Linked DNA regions of Homo sapiens: region 1 is linked to region 2. The links are contacts of gene promoters, found by promoter capture Hi-C in blood cells and fetal thymus (Javierre and others, 2016). All regions are on one chromosome and are shown on one strand. The core of a region is centred on a gene start or on the middle of the fragment in contact, and the rest is flanking DNA. Distances in the headings are between cores, read along the strand shown.

The links. The method cuts DNA at HindIII sites, captures the fragments that hold promoters and counts their contacts. A CHiCAGO score of 5 or more calls a contact.
Region 1: a contact is called between the fragment with the promoter of CTSW here and the fragment with the promoter of SIPA1 in region 2, in 2 of 17 cell types (M1 macrophages and endothelial precursors). The highest score is 5.2, in M1 macrophages.

Annotation. Positions count from the first base shown.
Region 1 is chr11:65,877,118-65,881,928 of GRCh38, reverse strand. CTSW (cathepsin W) reads right to left here and starts at 2,092. Exons shown (of 10, transcript NM_001335.4): 1 at 1,988-2,092; 2 at 1,643-1,727; 3 at 409-522. The coding sequence starts at 2,074. The HindIII fragment of the contact is 11,122 bases long and covers 1-2,656 here.
Region 2 is chr11:65,636,851-65,640,781 of GRCh38, reverse strand. It overlaps SIPA1 (signal-induced proliferation-associated 1), which reads right to left and starts at 2,681. Exons shown (of 16, transcript NM_006747.4): 1 at 2,600-2,681. It overlaps PCNX3 (pecanex 3), which reads right to left. Exons shown (of 35, transcript NM_032223.4): 35 at 3,343-3,931. The coding sequence ends at 3,804. RefSeq lists enhancers at 2,049-2,118, 3,070-3,860 and a silencer at 2,469-2,838. The HindIII fragment of the contact is 3,649 bases long and covers 2,024-3,931 here.

The sequences.
Region 1 (4,811 bases), core at 843-3,342, 240 kb before region 2:
GCTTGTAGCCCCAGCTACTTAGAAGGCTGAGGGGTCGGGGGAATTGCTTGAGTCTAGGAGGTGGAGGCTGAGTGAGCTGTGATTGCACTATTGTACTGCAGCCTGGACAACAGAGCAAGACCCTGTCTCAAAAAGGCAAGGGTGCCAAGCCTAGAGAGGCTGGGCTCCCTGCTGGGTGCTTCCCTGCAGCTGCTGCGCTGGCCCCTAGGCTGGATTAGGACACAGGACTGCAGAGATTCTGCCCCTGCACTGGGTGATTTGATACCAGCACCCAAGCCCCTGGTCCTCAGGGAAATGAATTTCCTTCCCTGGGAAGTAAAAATTGAAGGTCCGCTGGGTCCAGCTGCCAGTGTCCCTGGGGAGATCGCTTCCCAACCACCACCTACGAGCCAGAAGGGTTAATGGTACCTGTGAGGTCACTGAATGGAGTCACCCCAAACTCAGCTGTGCCCAAGTCCTCCTCCTGCAGCCTCTGAGCCTGGGCCAGGTTGTGGGCAAAGATGTCCAGGCGGTGAGCATGCTCTGGACCAAAAGGGAGTTGTCCTAGGCTGACTCCCAAGCCCTTAGGGGCAGGAAGTAGCCGCTGGCTGGGCACCCTTCCACCCACACCCACCCAGTTGAGCACTGGCTCCTTTCCTGTAGCCCCCACAAGGCCCCACTGCAGATACCCAGGCCCAGGAAGTGGTTACCCAGCCCACCGAGGGTTGGGTTTTCCCCAGAGGCAGCCAGAGGACCATCTCTGGCCACCCTAGGTGGGAAGCCAGGCAAGGGGTCCGGTGGTGGTGACTCAAGGATGTGTGGCTGGAGACCAGCTTCCTGCCAGGCCACGTCCTTTACACCTCTGACCACAGGAGGAGAGCTGGAACATGGCAGGGAGAGGAGATGACAAGGCACAGGCAGTCTGGGCTAAAAGGCACACACAGATCAGCCCCCTAGAGAGATCAGCACAGCGAGAGGGCAGGGGCAGGGGTTAGATCATGGGCTAGAGAAGAAGTCCCCAATGTGGGGACAAAATGGGTGTCCTTGGGTGTTTGCTGAATGAGCAAATGACTAGGTGGTGGCCCCCTGTCCACTGCCTAGAATCGCAGGGAAGTGGCTGTGGAGCCAGGGGATCACGTAGGACTAGGGCAGGACCCCACCTCCTGCCACTGCCCTCCAGATCCATAGCAAAGAATGATCCTGGACCCACTCATGCCTTCGGGAAACCAGGGAACACACCCCCAGCCCTGGCCTGTCCTGCTGAGTGGCCTTGGCCATGCCTGTTCCCCACCCTGAGCTTCGATTTCTTCATCTATTACAAAGCGGGATGGCTGGGCTCCGTGGCTTACACCTGTAATCCCAGCCCTTTGGGAGGCCGAGGCAGGCGGATCACCTGATGTCAGGAGTTCAAGACCAGCCTGGCCAACATGGTCAAACCCCATCTCTACTAAAAATGTAAAGGTTAGCCAAGTGTGGTGGCGCATGCCTGTAATCCCAGCTACTCAGAGGCTGAAGCAGGAGAATCGCTTGAACCCGGGAGGTGGAGGTTGCAGTGAGCCAAGATGACACCATTGCACTCCAGCCTGGTCAACAAGAGTGAAACTCCGTCTCAAAAAAAAAAAAAGTGGGGGCTTGGACTGGAGATGTATGTGCCCTGTGATACCTTCTGGGCTCAGGTAACTCCGGTTGAACTGGATCTGGAACAACTTGAAGGCCTCTTTCAGCTCTAGCGGCTGGGGACCTAGGTCCTGGCAAGGAACCAAGGGTGGAGAGGGGCAGTGGGCAGAGGAATCATTGCTGGGGCCCCACCTTAGTTCCCAGCCGTGCAAGGACTGGGCTAGGGGTCAGCCAGTTAGCCTTTTCTGTCTTCCCATGTGCCCTTGGGCACGTCAGCCCCCTCTCCAGCCTCAGCAACTCCCTCTGAAAAATGAGAATGACAGGCCAGCTGTTTCTGAAGGGGTGACCCCAGGCGTGGGACTGGCATAGGTAAGGGTTTGGGAGCACTTACCTGGGCCCTAAGGGGGCCTCTGATGCCTTGGGCTAGGCCTGCCACCAACAGGGCCAGGAGGCAGGAGGGGTGGGCAGTCAGTGCCATGCCGGTGCAGTCTGGAGTGGCATGGAGGCAGGAAGCCGCGCAGATCGAGGAGGACGGTGTGAGGGTGGGGCTGGAGAAACCACGAAGGGGAAGACAGGCTTGGTGGGTGGAGGGTGGACCCCTAGAACCCACAAGTTGCTCAGGCCTTCAGGCTTTCAGTCCCTGCCTGTCTGCTCCCCATCCCACCCCTTTTTCTTTCTTTCTTTCTTTCTTTTTTTTTTCCACCCAGGTTGGAGTGCAGTGGCATGATCTCGGCTCACTGCAACCTCCACCTCCCGGGTTCAAGCAATTCTCCTGCCTCAGCCTCCCGACTAGCTGGGACTACAGGCATGCACCACCATGCCCAGCGAATTTTTTGTATTTTCAGTAGAGACAGCATTTCACCATGTTGGTCAGGCTGGTCTCCAACTCCTGACCTCAGGTGATCCACCTGCCTCAGCCTCCCAAAGTGCTGGGATAACAGGCATGAGCCACTGCGCCCAGCCAAGGGAACCACTCTTGCTCATCCTATGAAGCTCAGTCAGCTCAATGGCCGCCTCTTTCAAGAAGCCTTCCCTGCTTCCCCAACCTCTGGTAGAAGCTTTGCAGCCCCTTCAGCCCAGCTGCACCTGTGCCCATTGGGCATCTGCCTCCAACCACACCAGAAGTGTTCAGTTCGCTTGTGTCCTCGGTGTCCTCGGTTCCCAGGATAGGGCTAGGCATGAGTCAGGCTCGCTAGGTGTTTGTTGACTGAACAATTGATCATCATGAGTTTTAAACAGGAAAGCAGGCCGGGCATAATGGCTCATGCCTGTAATCTCATCACTTTGGGAGGCCAAGGTAGGAGAATCATTTGAGCTCAGGAGTTGGAGACAAACTTGGACAACTGAGCAAGGCTTCATCTCTACTTAAAAAAAAAAAAGTTAGCCAAGCATGGTGGTGCTCTCCTGTAGTCCCAGCTACTGGGGAGGCTGAGGCCAGTGGGATTGCTTGAGCCTGGAAGATTAAGGCTGCAGTGAGCTATGATCATGCCTCTGCACTCCAGCGTGGGTCCAAGATCCTGTGTCAAAAAAACAAAACCAGGCCAGGCACGGTGGCTCACGCTTGTAATCCCAGCACTTTGGGAGGCCGAGGCGGGTGGATCACCTGAGGTCAGGAGTTGGAGACCAGCCTGGCCAACATGGTGAAACCCTGTCTCTACTAAAAATACAAAAAAGCAGCTGGGCATGGTGGCGGGCGCCTATAATCCCAGTTACTCGGGAGGCTGAGGCACAAGAATCACTTGAACCTGAGAGGTGGAGGTTGCAGTGAGCCGAGATCGCACCATTACACTCCAGCCTGGGCAACAAAAGTGAAACTCCATCTCAAAAAACAAAACAAAACAGGAAAGCGCAGAGTCAGAGTCCGGGAGCAGCAACTGCAGCCAGTGCCTCCCGTTCCTCATCCCTCCCACGGTCTAGGGATGAGGATGAGGGGGCTGAAGAGCCAGAAGGATAACAGGGTGAGCATCACAGACGGAGGGAGGCCAAAGCCTGACTTGTGAGGTCAAGGGCTGGGCAGCAGCATTAACACCCGTTACTGCTGCCTTTGTTCTAAGTGGGTCCTTGGGCTGGGGACCTCCCCTATAGGAGTTCAGGCTGAGAACTGGTGACCAAGACCAGAGAAGGGTGTGAAGAGCTGGCTTTCTAGGGTTCCATGGGGTGGGAGACAGGACAGCTATAATCCTGGGATTTATTCACTTACATGCTCACTACTGCGTTTCTTTTTTTTGTTTGTTTTTTTGAGACGGAGTCTCGCTCTGTCGCCCAGGCTGGAGTGCAGTGGTGCGATCTCGGCTCACTGGAACCTCCACCTCCTGGGTTCACGCCATTCTCCTGCCTCGGCCTCCCGAGTAGCTGGGACTACAGGCACCCGCCACCACGCCCGGCTAATTTTTTGTATTTTTTAGTAGAGACAGGGTTTCACCATGTTAGCCAGGATGGTCTTGATCTCTTGACCTCGTGATCCGCTCGCCTCGGCCTCCCAAAGTGCTGGGATTACAGGCGTGAGCCACCACGCCCGGCCTACCATGTTTCTTTATTAGGATTCCTCCCAGAGTCGTGAGGCCACACTTTGTCACCCTGCCCAGAGAGTAAACCAAGGGGCTTCTCTATCTGAAAAGCATGCTGCTGCCTTTATTGAAATGCAGTGGACAGACCATCCCCAGAGTGGTGCCTGGCCCTGTGGTTCTAGAGCCCAGTTATGGGCCCCAGCCAGTCTTGTCCTGTGTGTGACTGATAGTTAAGGCTCCATGTCAGCCCTCAGAGGTGGAGGTCCCAGTGTGGGCCTCTTGTGATGGTAGGGGATGTGGGAGGCCACGGGGAAAAGGAACTGGAGGTGTGGGGCCCAGTGGCCTTCCCTTTGATCCTCTCCTCCCTTCCCTTGAACTAGAGCTCCTGAGGCCAGGAGGTTTGGGTCTGTTTTTGGTCAGTGCTGTGTCCCTGGCTAGCACCACAGCATCTGCTTCACAGTGGCCACTCAGTAAACATTGTTTGTTTTGTTTTGCTTTGTTTTTTTGAGACAGAGTCTCACTCTGTCGCCCAGCCTGGAGTGCAGTGTCACGATCTCGGCTCACCGCAACCTCTGCCTCCCGGGTTCCAGCAATTCTCCTGCCTCAGCCTCCCAAGTAACTAGGGCTACAGGTGTGCACCACCATGCTGGGGTAATCTTTTTGTATTTTTAGTAGAGACAGGGTTTCACCATGTTGGTCAGGCTGGTC
Region 2 (3,931 bases), core at 1,432-3,931:
CCAGGCCCCCAGCCTGGTCCTCCACCACCCGTGTTGGCTTCCGGCCCCCTCCGAGACCATCAAAGCTGCTTCCGCTTTCCAGGCCACTTCCTTGTCTGCCTAGGGCTAAAGTTTCCAGCCCCCTCCCCAGCTTAGCTGGGCAAGGCTAGAGGCTGGGCTGTTGGGTCTTGGTCCTGAGGGTCCTGGAGCCTGGGCAGCCCTGGGACTGCCAGGGTCCCCCAGTCGCCACCCACACACCTTAGCTTTGGCCTGGGCCCAGAGTAAGGGTCCCACCAGGACCTAGCCCAACCGGACAGATGACTTGTATTGGCTGGGACGGGAAACCCAGGGGCCACTGGTGTCTGGGTCCTGCCCACTTAACAAAGGGAGGACGTCCTGTCCCCAGAGACCTTCCTCCTTGCCCCTCCCACTTCCTTCAGGGTCCCTGGAGAGCTGATCACCCAGAGAGGTCTGATCTCAGTGCCCTGGACCTCAAGGCCTCAATACCACAAGGACACATGGGTTCCCAGGGAGGCAGCGGCAGGGCAGCAGGAATGGCAAGAGGACTTCCTTCAGCACAGGAAGTAGCCCCAACTGTGGGCCCAGCCCTCTGCCAGGCCCCCACATCCTGAGGAAGGTGCTGGGGTCACAGCAGCTGTCATGGGACCCCAGTCACCCTGCCCTGAAGGACAGGCCAACTCACCTTCTTGCAGGCTACTGTGCCCAGGCTTGGGGGCAAGAGGAGTCACAATGACAGGGACCCATAGGGACCTCTGCCTACCTGGTCTCACTGATGCAGACAGGGAGGTCTGAACCCCATGTGACAGATGGTCAGATGAGGTCCAGAGGAGATGCTCTTGCCTGAAGCAATTCCGTGTCAGAGCTAGGATGTGAGCCTGGGTCTGCCCATCTCCAGGCCCTAAGCAGGGCTGCACCTGCCCACTGCTGTCTGTGTGCGTAGGTTTTGGGGGGTGGGTGTTGGGCTGAGGTTCAAGGTCTCACAGGATGCAAGATTGAGACACCCAAAGCCCCAGGGACCTGCTAAGTGCGGAAACGTGACGCCAGAGGCAGGTGCAAATGGTGGTGTGAGAACTTGAGGGAAGCCACACCCAGGCAAGCCCTGGATGGAGTAGGCAGTGAGGACAGGGAGCTGGGGAACCTCCACTGGGGGTACAGGCATCTAATGGTGGGTCTTCATGCAGCATCCAGCAACATCATGCGGGGCTGGGCCGGAGGGGGGTGGAGGAGGGGCTCCACACACCCTTCGTCTGGGGCCTCCAGAACCAAGCAAGAGTCGGCTCCCCAGCCCAGGTGCTTCTACCTTGATTTCTCCTGAATAAACTCCCATGCTGACCTTGAGCCTCTGTTTTCTCATCTCTAAAATGGGGTTAACTGGCCGGGTGCGGTGGCTGTGGCCTGTAATCCCAGCACTTTGGGAGGCCAAGGCGGGGGGATCACCTGAGGTCAGGAGTTCAAGACCAGCCTAGCTAACATGGTGAAACCCTGTCTCTACTAAAAACATAAAAATTAGCCGGGTGTGGTGGTGCGCACCTGTAGTCCCAGCCACTCAGGAGGCTGAGGCAGGAGAATCGCTTAAACCTGGGAGGCAGAGGTTGCAGTGAGCCGAGATCGCGCCACTGAACTCCAGCCTGCGGGACAGAGTGAGACTGTCTCCAAAAAAACAAAGAAAAAAATTGGGTTTAATTATTTCTGTCCCCTCCCAAGGCTGCTGAGAGACTGAGAAGAATGAGGTGAGTGTCGCTAGCTATGTGTGTGTGTGACGGGTGTAGCCCCTGGCTCCATGAGCCAAGCTCTGGGCACATTCAGCGCTCGGGCCTGGGCTATAGTGTGTGAAGGAGTAGGAGGGCATGAGGGAGGGGGTCTGTGCAAGCCCCGCTCCTTGTGGGCTGAGCTCTGCACGCTTGGAAGTGAGATCTGTGCATGTGTGCACCCAGCCTGTGCGCTGCCTCTTGCTGTGGCCCAGTGCCAGGCTCTGGCGCTGCCTTGAGGGGTGTTCTCGGGCTCTGCCCCCCACCCTGAAGCTTCACACAGGGTCCATTGAGGCTAGGACATTCCTCCGGGCCTGTGTCACTAGGGGTGGGGGGAAAGGGCCGGCCCCGCCCCCACAGATCCGGAAGGCCTGGCTGCCCCAGGAGGAGGAGCTGGCCACTTCCCAGCACATCTGGAGGTCATGACCCCATTTCGGCTGCCAGGGGGCGCGACAGATGTTTCCTCCCAGGCCAGGCCAGGGACTGGGGTGGAGGCCGCCTAAGAAGAAGAGGAGCCTCAGAATAAGGGGGAGCCCCGCACACACTTGCAGTGTTGAGGGGGAGGGGGTCACAGTGCCGCCACCAGGAGTCAGGAGCCGCCGCTTCCACTCACCGGCTGGCTGGCCAGGCTAAGCCGTCACACAGAGAGAGTAGGAACGGCTGGTCAGAGACAGGGGGCTGGACATATTGACTCGGGACTGAGCTGGAGCCCGGAGGGAAGTTGGGAGGGTGCTGGCGGCGAACGTGGCGAGGACCCCACTCCCATACACATCACCCGGGCCCACGGCTAGGCCACCTCTCCCCTGTCGGGCCCGACAGTAGTGCCTCCCGTCCCCTGCTCCCGCCAGTACCTCTGGGGCTCCCGCCCAGCCGCCGCCGCCCGCGCTGGGGTCCCGCTGCCGCTCTCCCGCTACCGCTCCCGGCGCCGGCTCCGCCTGGGGGCGGGGCCATGCTGGGAGGCGGGGCCATGCCGGGAGGCGGGGCCGGCCGGGAGCTGTCTGCGGCGGGAAGCGCAGCAGCGGGGATTCCAGGCCTGGCGGAGGTCAGCACCGAGCAGTGCTCATTCTAAGGCCATTTCCTCTCCTGAGAAACTTGTGCCTGCCTTCCAGACCAACCGGGAGGGCTAGCGGAGGCCACCTAGCGTCCAGCTCCCGGCCAGCAGGTGCTCAAGAGTCTGCCACTATTTTATGGAGCACTTGCTAAGCACTGGGCCCTGGGCAACCATTCCACTAGCGCGCTCTCATTTATTCTAAAAACACCTTAGATAGGTGTCATCTCTTTACGCCCTGGAGCAGCTGAGGTGCAGAGAAAGGCTTTGGCCAAGAACAAGCCTGATAAATGTAGGAGCCACCAGACCTGGAAGTCTGACCATATGGTGGGAAATGGCAGACAATACCCTTCAGATAAAGGCTTGAAAAGGGAGCAGCCATGCGGTGAAGAGGACCCGGTTCTACCTGAACCCCACCTTGGTCTGCCCTTGATCTCTACTAGACTTCAGCCCCACATCCTTCACCCCTCTGCGTGCTTGTCCATCCCAACTTAGCCGCCTGTACTATCATGTACCCATTCCCAGGTAGAAAAAGAAACTGCCAACCAAAATCAAAAATAGTGTTATTAATTCTGATGTCTCCGAAGCACAAAAAAAAAAAAAAAAAAGAAAAGAAAAAAAAGGAAAGAAAGAAACCACCCTTCCCACAATTCAGGCCCCAGGTCCAGGCCAAGGGGGCCACACCTGCAGGCAGTGCAGGCCCAGGGGCTGAGGTGGTCCTGGCCACAGGCTCCAAGTGGGACCAGCCCATGGTTTGGCTCTTAGGGCCTGGCTGGGAGGCTGACTGCCTCCATCTGGGGAGCCCAGGCCCTGGACTGGGGATGAGAGAGATCAGGGGTCAAGGTCAGAGGTCTGGGTCACTCAGTTTTGGTACTCTGGCCAAGGCAGCCAAAGGTCAGGGTTCAGACATGTAGGCCAAAGCCACTCAGTTCTGTGGTCCAGCAGAGAGGCAGCAGAGCAGGTCCGTTACTGAATCCTAGGAGGTGGTCCAGTGGGCGCCAGGTAGCTCAGTACTGGTGTTCCAGCAGGGGCTGGGCTGCCGGGCTCTCACGCTCCTCAATAGGGGCAGGCCAGTCGCCCAGGGCACCCATAGGTGTGCCACTCTCAGGGGCACTGCTGTCCAAGCAAGGAATGT